Regions from separate parts of the Homo sapiens genome. Here all the other regions are linked to region 3. The links are contacts of gene promoters, found by promoter capture Hi-C in blood cells and fetal thymus (Javierre and others, 2016). All regions are on one chromosome and are shown on one strand. Each heading gives the region's core, a stretch centred on a gene start or on the middle of the fragment in contact. The rest is flanking DNA. Distances are from core to core; before and after follow the strand shown. Region 1 overlaps CSTPP1 (centriolar satellite-associated tubulin polyglutamylase complex regulator 1). Region 2 overlaps AMBRA1 (autophagy and beclin 1 regulator 1). Region 3 holds the start of F2 (coagulation factor II, thrombin).

Region 1 (4,162 bases), core at 730-3,229, 420 kb before region 3:
CTCGAACTCCTGACCTCAAGTGATCCACCTGCCTTTGCCTCCCAAAGTGCTGGGATTACAGGCGTGTGCCACCATGCCCAGCCAGAATAAGAATGCAGGCAATACAGCCGGGTGCGGTGGCCCACGCCTGTAATGCCAGCATTTTGGGAGGCCGAGGCAGGCAGATCATAAGGTCAAGAGATTGGGACCATCCTGGCCAACAGTGTGAAACCCAGTCTCTACTAAGAATACAAAAATTAGCCAGGCATGGTGGTGCGTGCCTGTAGTCCTAGCTACTTGGGAGGCTGAGGCGAGAGAATCGCTTGAACCTGGGAGGCGGAGGTTGCAGTGAGCTCAGATCATGCCACTGCACTCCAGCCTGGTGACAGAGCAAGACTCTATCTCAAAAAAAAAAAAAAAAAAAAAAAAAATGGCAGGCAATACTTTAAATCAGTGGTTCTCAACGTGTGTTTCCCAGACCATCAGTATCACCTGGGAATTTTTTAGAAATATAAATTATTGAGCCCCGCCCTAAACCTACTGAACTCTGGGGATGTGGTCCGGCCATGTGTGGTTTAACAAGCCCTGCAGGTGACTCTGATGCATGCTCAAGTTTGAGAACCAGTGCTTTAAATCTTCACCCTTGGAGCAGAGCTTCCCAACCCTTTGTCACTTCGGCCTCAAATGACTTACAGATGTGATGGTCCCCTTGGCCCAGCTGGGAGGAGGCCAGAGCCTGCAGGCCAATCACAAGAAGTCTTGTCTTTACTGGAGATTTTTGTTATATATTATTTTCTGATTGCTGTGAAGTGCAAAAAGGCCAGGAAGCATTGCCTTTGGAAACCCAGGAACATCTCATTTTTCTTTTAATCTGGTACTATTAATAATACCAACATAATTGTAACAGCAAGAAATTACTACTGGCCAGGCGTGGTGGCTCATGCCTGTAATCCCAGTATTTTGGGAGGCTGAGGTAGGCAGATCGCTTGAGGTCAGGAGTTCGAGACCAGCCTGGCCAACATGGTGAAACCCCGTCTCTACTACAAATACAAAAAATTAGCAAGGCGTGGTGGCGGGCATCTATAATCCTAGCTACTTGGGAGGCTGAGGCACAAGAATCACTTGAACCCAGGAGGCGGAGGTTGCAGCGAGCTAAGATCACGCCACTGCACTCCAGCCTGGGCAACAGAGCAAGACTTCATCTAAAAAAAAAATTATTACTGATTTAATGTCTACAATGTGGTAAGCAGTGTTCATGGTTTTGTTGGTGTTACTGAAATCTTACAAACACCCTATGAGTTAGTTACTATTATTATTATCATCCCCATTTTACAGATATAAAAACAGGGCTCAGAGAAGTTAAGAGATATCCTCAAGGTCATCCAGTTAATGGGGCACAGGTGGGATGTACAGTAGATCTTTCTAATGCCATGGGGCCTGTGTTCTTCTAGGTCAAGGTTAATATTACCATTTCTAACGATTATGACAAGTTTACTCTGTGCCAGCCACCATTTTAAGCACATCATATACTTCTCCTTCAATCATTACAACTATTATTATTCCCATTTTACAAGTGAGGAAACAGGCTCAAATTAAATACCTTTCTCAAGGGCACAGCTAGTATATTGTGGAACCAGGATTTGAACTCAAGAAGTCTGGTTCCAACTGCATGCTCTTAACCATCCAGAAAGCTTCCAGTCCATGGAGGATGGGGAGTGGGAGATGCTGTGGTGATCATCTGGGGATAAAAGAACTACTCCAGTTGCTGCAGGAATATGTGAGGTGGAGGGGATCTCTGGCTTGGCTGCTGTCATGGAGTCTGTTTGCTTTTTCTTTTCCTGTTTTTCCAGCTCACACCTGCTGCCCCAGGGCCTGGCCATGATGCTTGTAGCACATAAGGCAGGCGCATGTGGAGACACCATGCCCCTGAACAGGCTCCGGCTTCCAGCTGCATGTGGATTACATTCTTTTACGCACACATCATCACAGACTGGAGCCTGCTTCTGCAGCCTGTCCCCAGACTTCAGTGTCCTGAATAAAGTAAGCCTGGCAGTGAAATGGGAGAGGGCAGTTCCTCTTCTAGCAATAGTAACTGCCTTGAAGTCTCTACCACCTCCATTTGCAGTTCTGATCAGATGCATAGGTATGTGTGTGGGGAAGCTGGGACCCTGATCTTCAGGACAAAATGAGAATAGTTTACAAAATCAGGGGATGCTTTCTGGGATACATACAATTTTTCTACATATGCACCAGCTGCAGTACAGTGGGGAAAGCATGGCATTGGGAGGAGAAGTTGACACAGAAGCTTGATGCTCATACTCGGGGAGAAAACAAACTTATCCTAATTCTGAATTCATCTCTAACTGCAGCCAGTGCCATGTGGGTTACCCTTGGCCCTTCTGTTGTTACTGCCATTCCCATAATTCCCTCAGACTGCTATTGATATGGACTGGCTACGATGCTTCCTCCTGCTCAGACAGAAAGGTCTGAGGTGTCTGTCAAACAGCAGGCCTCTAGGTGAGGAGTGGGTAAGTTTCCAGCCGCAAATAGAGGAATACCATTCCAGAAGCCCCTTGGTATCAATAACTGTACAATTCTACCTTGGTATCGAGAATTTTTGGTTCTTACAGGATTCTACCACCTACACTCAAATCTTGTGGTGCTTTCATGTATCAGATTGTTTGGAAGGGTCTGAGGAGACAGCTGGGGCAAATGCAAAGCTGTGGCTGCGGGGGGCTAAGATGCATTTTGAAGCCTCACTCTCATAAGCTCCCTCACATCATGGGAAAGGGAAAAGAGGTCAGTATTCTGGAGTGATTGATCAAAACCAAGGTCATACGTCACAGAGTGGTGGCAGCCAATGACCAGTACCTAAGCAGTCCCCTTCTATATCAAGTTCTTTGAGGGGCAGGAACTATATCTTATTCATGACTGTATCCCCATTTGCAGAATAGCTCCCGGCACAAAATATGCACTCAAGAAACATTTGGCGAAATGAAGTACTGATACATACAGCAAGATGGATGAACCATGAAAACATTGTGCTATTAGGTTGGTGCAAAAGTAATTGCAGTCTTTGCCATTGAAAATAATGGCAAAACCACAATTACTTTTACACCAACCTAAAACATGAAACTAGTCACAAAAAAAACACTTTTTTTTTTTTTTTTGAGATGGAGTCTCACTCTGTCACCAGCCTGGAGTGCAGTGGCGCGATCTCGGCTCACTGCAACCTCTGCCTCCTGGGTTCAAGCGATTTTCCTGCCTCAGGCTCCCAAGTAGCTGGGACTACTGGCGTGCATCACCACGCCCAGCTAATTTTTGTATTTTTAGTAGAGATGGGGTTTCACCATGTTGACCAGGATGGTCTCGATCTCTTGACCTCGTGATCCACCCACCTTGGCCTCCCAAACTGCTGGGATTACAGGCGTAAGCCACTGCACCTGGTCGTGGTTTTTTTTTTTTTTTTTTTTTTTTTTGAGACAGAGTCTAGCTCTGTTGCCCAGGCTGGAGTGCAGCAGCATGATCTCGGCTCACTGCAACCTCCACCTCCCGGGTTCAAGTGATTCTCCTGCCTTAGCCTCCTGAGTAGCTGGGATTATAGATGTGCACCACCATGCCCAGCTAAGTTTTGTATTTTTAGTAGAGACAGGTTTCACCATGTTGGCCAGGCTGGGTTTGAACTCCTGACCTCAAATGATCCTCCTGCTTCAGCCTTCCAAAGTGCTGGGATTACAGGCGTGAGCCACTATGCCTGGCCAAGACCACATATACAATTCTACTTATTTGATTTTTTTTTTTTTTAAAGACAGAGTCTCACTCAGTTGCCCAGGCTGGAGTGCAGTGGCACAATCTCAGCTTACTACAACCTCTGCCCCCCAGGCTCAAGCAATTCTCCCACCTCAGCCTCCCAAGTAATTGGGACCACAGACGCACACCACCACGCCTGGCTAAGTTTTTGTATTTTTGTTAGAGATGGGGTTTCACCATGTTGAGCAATCCTCCCCACTTAGCCTCCCCAAGTGTTGGGATTACAGGCATGAGCCACTGTGCCTGGCCTCAATTCTACTTATTTGAAATGCCCAGTGGATAAATCTACAGAGCCAGAAAGTAGATTAGGGGTTGCCTAGGGTTGGGGAAGACGGTGGAGTGGGGACTGAAGAGTAATGGCTAAGGGGTGTAG
Region 2 (4,154 bases), core at 116-2,615, 290 kb after region 3:
CGTTCCTTGTGCTATCATTGTACCTCTTACACATTCTCATGTCAGTACTTGTCACACCAAACTGCAGTTATTTGTTTCCATGTCACTCTCTTCTCCTGGGCTGTGAGCTCCTTGAGAATAGAGACTGTGTCTGTTTTATCTTTATGAAGTCCAAGAACTTCATGCGGAACCTGACACTTAGTAGAAAGTGAATGAATGAATGAAAGAGAATCTCAAAAAAAAATAAATAAATAAAAATAAAGCATCCTCTTTATCATTTCTAGGTGGTAACTAGCAGAACCAATGATGGGTAACATAACATCATGTCCCACCAAGCTTCTGAAAGGAAAACAAGTCATTCTGTCCTCTTGATATCACAATGACAAGAAAGTTCTGATCTTGAATTCCATATGGCTGGAAATATTTGACATTGGGTGAATAGGAGATGTCATTGTGGGATGTTCATCAAGTCTATTTTCTTATCTAGATATTTGAGGATGGAAGTTGAGTTTTCATTTAAATATTCTTCTTTTGCTTCTCTTAAGCAGAAGCTGGTCTCTGCTTTTCACCACCTGGAATCCCAGTCCCAACAGCTGCTCTTCTAACCCTTCCGGCCTAATTGTGGAATAATCGTTTAAATCATTAAGAGACAGAATCTGATGTTGGTAGCTCTGACAGACCTCTCTAGCTTCTTTCATAAGCCAGGGCTCTTGCCCAGCTCCTGCACACAGCCTGCCAGTTCTCCATCTTAGCACAGTTCCACTTTTCCATAGTAGCCAGAAACATCTGGCTGAAGACAAACAGTTACAAAGCAGAAGCCAAGGTGATGGGATCTGTTGTCACATATGGGGCTGGCAGCTCAAGGAATGTGGTTCTCTGCTGAGGAGATGTGGTAATCCAGTCAGCCCCTGGCTGTCCTGCCAAGGGTCTCAAGGCAGCTAGCCAGCAGCTGCATGCTTGGTGACTGGAGCTACTACTACTGCCAGGCTGCCTGGTGAACCTTTTTTGATTCTCAGTAGGTACCATCTGCCACCAAGCACTAAGAAAGGGAGCTGAAGTACCTAGAAAGTTCCCATTTGGGAAGTGTTCCTGTCACCCAAGAGACAGGATCAAGGCATCTCAACAAGGTTTAGGTCAACCAAGTGTCCACCCAGTCTGACTTTAAACCCCCATGCTACAGAAAGGTTTCTGGTTTTCCAGGTCTTGGTTGCCCCTTACGTCCAAAGGCACCAGATCACTCAGCAAATGTCCCTGAATTCAGTGATTGGTGGAAGGGAAGACACCAGCTTTTTTGGATAGCTGTGCTGTATCACCGTTTAAGGCAAGAAGTGAATTTTTGTCTGAGAACAGGGAGCAAGGGTTTAATGGGACAGTACAGCATCTCCCTCTTTGCACAGGTAAGTATAGGTGGGTGTCTCCATCTCTAATGTCAAGCTCTGACCATAAAGGAATGCTTTAGTGGGTAATGGGCCTGTCCTAGAGCTTTGCTACCCAGAATTCCCCTTCTGTCTGGTGTTACCTCTTGGAATTCACTGTGGTAATGTTCAGAGAGGCAAATGTGTTGGGCCAACAGACATTCCCAGGAGAACATCCTCCAGAGCATTGATTTATTTTAAGATGGCACTAAGTGACATCTCTCCCCAAGAGATGATCTCTGACACAATCCCATATGAAAACTCTTCTGAAAATGAATTGCTAATTGCTATTAGCCTTGATGCACTTACTCTAAGCAGTTCTTCAGACTTCTGGATCAGTGCTTCTCAAACTGTGGTTCTTGGACAACTTACAGTAGAACTACATGGGTCCTTATTAAAATACAGATCCATTTCAGACCTAAAATCAGAATAAGAATGGGAGTCAGAGGGACCCAGGATTAGTATTTTTAAAACAAGATTTCTTCATTTTAGGTGTCTGCCCTCAGCCTCCTCAGCAAGGCAGAGTCAGTCTCAGGTCTACTTGCCATTGTGGTTTTGTGCATGGTGCTTTGATTCTTTGCTAATTATGTTGCAGGCACAGTGGTGTTTGTCTTCTGTTTCCTACCAAACTCAGCTTTTTTGGCTGTCTGCGCCTCACCTCCCATCTTTTCTAGGCTGTTGCTGCTTTCCAGGTTTCTCCCTTGAATAGCTGTATGTGCTGGAGTCTTTTCTTTATGTTGAATCATTTTAATTTTTGTCCTTATTTCTAGGATCTAGGGTCCTTTTGATCTTTCCCTTCTCTGTTTATCGTGCTAGTCCTCCCAGTTTTAATGATGGGTAAGTCAGGAAAGTAAGACTGGGCACATATTTTCTCTCTCCCTTCCCACTGTCCATTTGCGATTCCTCCAGACTGGATATGCTACTCTCTATGACTCAGAATCTTATTTTCTGTCTGATTCCCTTCTGCTTGAGCCAGAGAGGGCTTTTTGTTAATTTTTGTTTTGTTTTTAGGTTAAGCTTTTAGAGACTGCTGAGCTGAAGTTTTGCTGAATTCTCAAAACACTAAACTGCCTGTGTTCCCTCTCGGCTTTCATTTTCTAATTGGAACCAGGCACAGTATTGTAACAGAGAACTGCAATTAATTTTCTAAAATAGTGGCAACTTGCACAGTATAATAACTTTGGTTGTAACCAAGTGAAAGCATAATAACAAAAATACAAAATTACTGATGAAACCAGAAAGAGTCATATACCACATTCTTCCTTTAGTTTGTATCTCAGTAAGTGCTGTGTTACTTAGGAATAGGGGCAGAAGCCTGCAACTGGGCAGGGAGGTTCAGGGACATGAGGACGAAGCTAGGGCATTTTGAGCTAGAAAGCAAGAATAAGGATTAGTGCTTTCAACACTGGAATTAACATGGACCACCCCCCCACCTCCCAATAAGTGGGGATTGTAGGCACATAAGTGGTTTAGTAAGAAGTGGAAAAGGTTTTTCTGTGGAGTTCGAGTTCCATCGGCTCCCATCCGGGCTATCCTGCCACCTTAGCGGCTGCTCCTCCCCAGGATGCGGGCAGGGGGCCTCTCTCCCACTCCCCACACACCGATTTCTGAGTAGCGATAGGGGCTGGAGGCTTATTTTATGGGGTAGGGGGCCGCTGGTAGGCGAAGATTGTCCGAGGGAGAGGGGGAGGATGAAGCCAGTGCGTGGCGGAGACCTGCCAGATGTTGATGCCTAAGAAGAACCGGATTGCCATTTATGAACTCCTTTTTAAGGAGGGAGTCATGGTGGCCAAGAAGGATGTCCACATGCCTAAGCACCCGGAGCTGGCAGACAAGAATGTGCCCAACCTTCATGTCATGAAGGCCATGCAGTCTCTCAAGTCCCGAGGCTACGTGAAGGAACAGTTTGCCTGGAGACATTTCTACTGGTACCTTACCAATGAGGGTATCCAGTATCTCCGTGATTACCTTCATCTGCCCCCAGAGATTGTGCCTGCCATCCTACGCCGTAGCCGTCCAGAGACTGGCAGGCCTCGGCCTAAAGGTCTGGAGGGTGAGCGACCTGCGAGACTCACAAGAGGGGAAGCTGACAGAGATACCTACAGACGGAGTGCTGTGCCACCTGGTGCCGACAAGAAAGCCGAGGCTGGGGCTGGGTCAGCAACCGAATTCCAGTTTAGAGGCGGATTTGGTCGTGGACGTGGTCAGCCACCTCAGTAAAATTGGAGAGGATTCTTTTGCATTGAATAAACTTATAGCCAAAAAACCTTAAAAAAAAAAGAAGAAGAAGAAGAAGAAGTGGAAAAGATCCTCATTGCCTAATCGCTGCAGATCCTAGAGGCACTAGGAACTTGAATCTCACCAGGCGTAGTTTGCTTTTCTCTCGGGTCATTTTATTGGCAGAAGGGATGACTAAGGACACCTTCATTTGACTTGGGTTGAGGAGGAAGCTCTGGGATAGAATGCAGTTTTGCTCCCCCTTCTCCATGGAACAGTATTGTGGTCTTTAAGGGAAAGCCTCCAATACCTAAGGGTCAATTTTATTGAAAGCTTTTTCTTTGTGGCCATGTGGTAAAACCGTAGCCAAGAGTTGAGTGAGTGTTACCCAGACAAATCAATAGTTCGTAGGACACATTGAAAAGAAAGTATCCATCTCTCTCCCTCTCCTCTTCTTCCCCTCCCCATTCCCCTTCTTCTTTCTTCCTTTCTTGACCTAAGAGTTTTGCTGGTCAGTAGTGGTCTATCCCTTTATACCCCTTC
Region 3 (4,018 bases), core at 668-3,167:
GAGTTTACAGTGAGCCAAGATCGTGCCACTGCACTCCAGCCTGGGCAACAGAGCGAGACTCTGTCTCAAAAAAAAAAACATTAATTCATTAGTCCATTCATTCATTCATTCGTTCGCATGCCAGACACAGAGCCAGGTACAAAGAGACATCTTGACCCCAGGAATGGGAGCAATGTCAGATGCTGGGGACTGCCTCGGCCTCCACCAGCCACACTCCAAACCCACCCCTGAGCTCTTCTCCCAGGCTCCCCTCCATGTCCTGCTCCCCAAACCCGTGTCAGTTGCTCACCTTCCAGACATGCAGCAAGCTTATCTCGAGGCGTCCTCGCTGTCTCACAAGCTGGAAAAGACCCAGGTGTTTACCTTTGGGATTGGGGTATGGCCAGGATGAGCTGGAGTCAGGGTGGATGGGATGTTGGTGAGAAACAGAAAGATGGATGAACAGATGGGAGGGACCAAGGAAGGAGTGGGGAAGGGGTGGATGGGTGGATGGCTAGGTGCAGCAGAAGATTCTCTGGGTAGAATTCTCTCACTGGGGTCCCCAGGCCTCCCTTCCTGGGGCAAATCCTTCCCGGTGCTCACCTGTGTACTTGGCCCAGAACACATCCTGAAAAACAAGGGCTGGGAGTGAGGCTACGGCAGCTCCTGTTTTGTGTTGTTTTAGTAAATGTTATGTCTCCTCCTCACACTTTCCTTTACCCTGGTCACGCAGGGGGCAGGCTCTGGGGAGGTTTGTGGCAGAGTTTCCTACTTTTGTTTCCAAAAGGAGAAGAATATTTGAGGATAGGGGAGTTCCTCCAACACACACACCGAGACTGAAAGAGGCTGGGGGAGATGGGAGGAGAGGGGGCAGTGGGACCCTGGCAGAGCCCTACAGACAGGAAAGGCGACACAGAGCTCCAGGAACACTGAGTCTTGAGCCCGGGGGCTTGTGGTGGCCTCCCCAGAGTCCCACCCCTCAAGGGTGGTGTGGGAGTCTGCCGCTGAGGAGGCCATGTGGACACAGAGCTCCAGGGCAGGTGGATGTCTGAAGACTGTGGAGGCCTCCCCATGTCATGGAGCTGCACAGGGACACAGTCCAGGCACAGAGACCCCCAGGAAAGGCTGAGGCCGCTCCTCTTGCCAGCCCTGTGAGGAGGGGCTCAGAGTTGAAATGAGGCTGTGAGCAGCGAAGGGGCTGTGGCGTTCCTCGCTTGCTTCTCTGTGGAAGTGTCTAGAGTTGGGCCCGGTCTGAGGCCCCGGCACCGTCCGAGCAGCCCAGGCTCACCGTAGCCGTGGAGGACTCCAGAGCCTCGAAGGCCTCCTCGTAGCTGCACGTCTCCTCCACGCACTCTCGCTCCAGGTTGCCCTTGCGCACCTCCTCCAAGAAGGTGTTGGCTCGCCGGACCCGCTGGAGCAGCGACCGTGCTTGCTGAGGAGCCAGGAACACTGTAAGGCGGTGGGGGGGTCATGGGACAGCGGCCTCAGGAACAGGCAGTCTTGGCCATTCTGGGGGCATGAAGCAAGCCCACCCTCCCCTGCTGGCTTCTGAGAGAGGCTGTCTGGGCTGGTGGAAGTGCCTGGAAGGCTGCTAAATGTGGCCCCCTGTGCCCCTCCTACACTGCCCCTTGCCCCCAGCCTGCTCCCTATATTGGAAGAGAGAAGCAGCCATTCTCTTTCCAGCCCTGAGCTCCTGACTTCTTCCCTAAGCTGGCCGCCTGGGGCTGAGACCTACTTAGGGGCCAGCTCTGTGTGCTCTGTCCAGCCAGGAGACCCCAGCCCATGGGCCCACACCCCAGTCCTCCAGCCTGTTCCAGCCTGCAAGCACTCCCTTACCATGCTGGCTGTGCACAAGGCTACACAGGGCAGCCAGGGCCAGGCAGCCAGGCAGCTGCAAGCCTCGGACGTGCGCCATAGTGTGTCAGCTCCTGGGTCACTGAGGAATTGTCTGTCCTGACCCCTCTGGGTTAATGTTGAACTAACATGAAGAAATCAGCGGAGAGGGTGAGGTCAGAGGGTCAGGGCCGTGGGGACGGGTGGGTAGATAGTCCTCCTGTCCATCTCCACCATCTGGGAGGACAGGTCCTCCTGGGAGCAGGGATGGATGGTCTAGGAGGAGTCACAAAAAAGGTCACTGTCACCCCCATCTCCCACCCTCCCCCTCTGAGATTTAGCCCATTCTGGCCAGTGGGGCTATGAGACTTTCCTGGAGCTCCTTCGAATCCTAACATATAGCGGTGGTTGCTTGTCATCTCTGTGTGCCTCAGTTTCCTCATCTATACAATGGGAATAATACTTTGTTGTGAGGACTAAAGGAGATTAGGAATGGAATGTCCATGGAATATCGTAAGTTCTTAATCAGATCTGCACATATAGGCCAATGTGGGGGTTTGTATAATCATAATACACAGATATCAAAAATAGAGACAAAGATAAAAGGTGTGGCCTGATGGAAGTTGCCCCTCGCCATGGGATGCACCAGGGATAGGAACAGCCAACATTTGCCCCAGCTTCTCAGCCACTGGAGGAGGGGCCCATTTCTCCTCCTTCCTGTCCAGGGTGCCTGGAGGTGTGTTTGTGTGTGGCAGCTGCCTGGGAGGAGTCAGGTCCAGGGACTCTTGGGCCTTTAGTCTATCTTCTGTCACCTCCCAGGACCTGCGCCTGTCCCGGAACAGGGGCTACTGAAATCCCTGGGTCTCCACTGAGGGGCCCTCCTTCTCCCTGGCTGCCTGCCCCATGGCAGGCCTAGAGAGGCTTCTGGTCCTACCCTACCCTCCGCCCTACTCCTGTCCCTCCCCCATTTCCTGTTTGCAGTACCCAAGGCAAATATTAGTCTAAGTAGGACAGAGGGACAAAGAGCAGGAACACGGGGAGGCACAAGTTCTCGCCTCGCCTCACCTGTCCTTTGGGCCTGGCTGTTTGGGGTCTGGACCAGGTCATGTGTGGGAACAGGGAGTGTTGGCAGAAAAACTGGGGACCAGGACTCCCGCAAACACCTTAATTCCTGGGAGGCCCATTTCTTATATATTTTCATATATATATTTTTAGGCCAGGCATAGTGGCTCACACTTGTAATCCCAACACTTTGGGAGGCCGACATGGCAGGATCGCTTGAGGCCAGGAGTTTGAGACCAGCCTGGGCAACATAGCAAGACCCTCATCTCTACCAAAAAAAAATTAAAAATTAGCTGGGAATGGTGGTGCATGCCTGCAGTCTGAGCTACTGAGGAGGCTGAGGCAGGAGGATCACTTGAGCCCAGGAGTTCCAGGCTGCAGTGAGCTATGATTGCACCACTGTACTCCAGCCTGGGTAACAGAGTAAGATCCTGTTTCTTTCTTTCTTTCTTTCTTTCTTTTTTTTTTTTTTTTTTGAGACGGAGTCTCGCCCTGTCACCCAGGCTGGAGTGCAGTGGAACAATCTCGGCTCACTGCAATTTCCATCTCCCTGTTCAAGTGATTCTCCTGACTCAGTATCCCAAGTAGCTGGAATTACAGGCGTGTGCCACCACACCTGGCTAATTTTTGTATTTTTAGTAGAGATGGGGTTTCGCCACATTGACCAGGATGGTCTCGAACTCCTGACCTCAGGTGATCCGCCCACCTCCACCTCGGCCTCCCAAGTGCTGGGATTACAGGCGTGAGCCACCATGCCTGGCCTGAATGAGACCTGTTCCTAGAAAAATAAAATAAAATAAAATAAAATTGAATAAATAAAATAAAATTATAATATATATTTTGGGTTTTTGTTGTTTTGTTTTTGAGATGGAGGCTGGAGTGCAATAGCGTGAACTCGGCTCACTGCAACCTCTACCTCCTAGGTTCAAGCGATTCTCCTGCCTCAGCCTCCCGAATAGCTGGAACTACAGGCACCCGCCATCATGCCTGGCTAATTTTTGTATTTTTGTAGAGACAGAGTTTCACCATGTTGCCCAGGCTGGACGTGAACTCCTGACCTCAGGTGATCTGCCCACTTTAGCCTCCCAAAGTGGGGATTACAGGCGTGAACCACTGCTACCTACCTGTTGGGTTTTTTTGTTTG

Evidence for each region. Contacts are between HindIII fragments. The CHiCAGO score rates a contact against its expected background, and 5 or more counts as called.
Region 1: a fragment that was not itself captured here is called in contact with the fragment with the promoter of F2 in region 3 in 1 of 17 cell types (M1 macrophages); the score reaches 7.6 in M1 macrophages.
Region 2: a contact is called between a fragment that was not itself captured here and the fragment with the promoter of F2 in region 3, in 1 of 17 cell types (M1 macrophages). The highest score is 5.3, in M1 macrophages.

What each region holds. Positions count from the first base shown.
Region 1 is chr11:47,141,229-47,145,390 of GRCh38, reverse strand. The region is part of intron 4 of CSTPP1 (centriolar satellite-associated tubulin polyglutamylase complex regulator 1); the gene reads right to left. Among named protein-coding and RNA genes, the nearest start is that of ARFGAP2, 34 kb to the left of the region's middle. The HindIII fragment of the contact is 614 bases long and covers 1,673-2,286 here.
Region 2 is chr11:46,428,113-46,432,266 of GRCh38, reverse strand. The region is part of intron 14 of AMBRA1 (autophagy and beclin 1 regulator 1); the gene reads left to right. It also overlaps the pseudogene RPS10P19. Among named protein-coding and RNA genes, the nearest start is that of MIR3160-2, 22 kb to the left of the region's middle. The HindIII fragment of the contact is 2,096 bases long and covers 318-2,413 here.
Region 3 is chr11:46,717,112-46,721,129 of GRCh38, reverse strand. It overlaps F2 (coagulation factor II, thrombin), which reads right to left and starts at 1,917. Exons shown (of 14, transcript NM_000506.5): 1 at 1,816-1,917; 2 at 1,268-1,428; 3 at 583-607; 4 at 290-340. The coding sequence starts at 1,894. The HindIII fragment of the contact is 4,700 bases long and covers 311-4,018 here.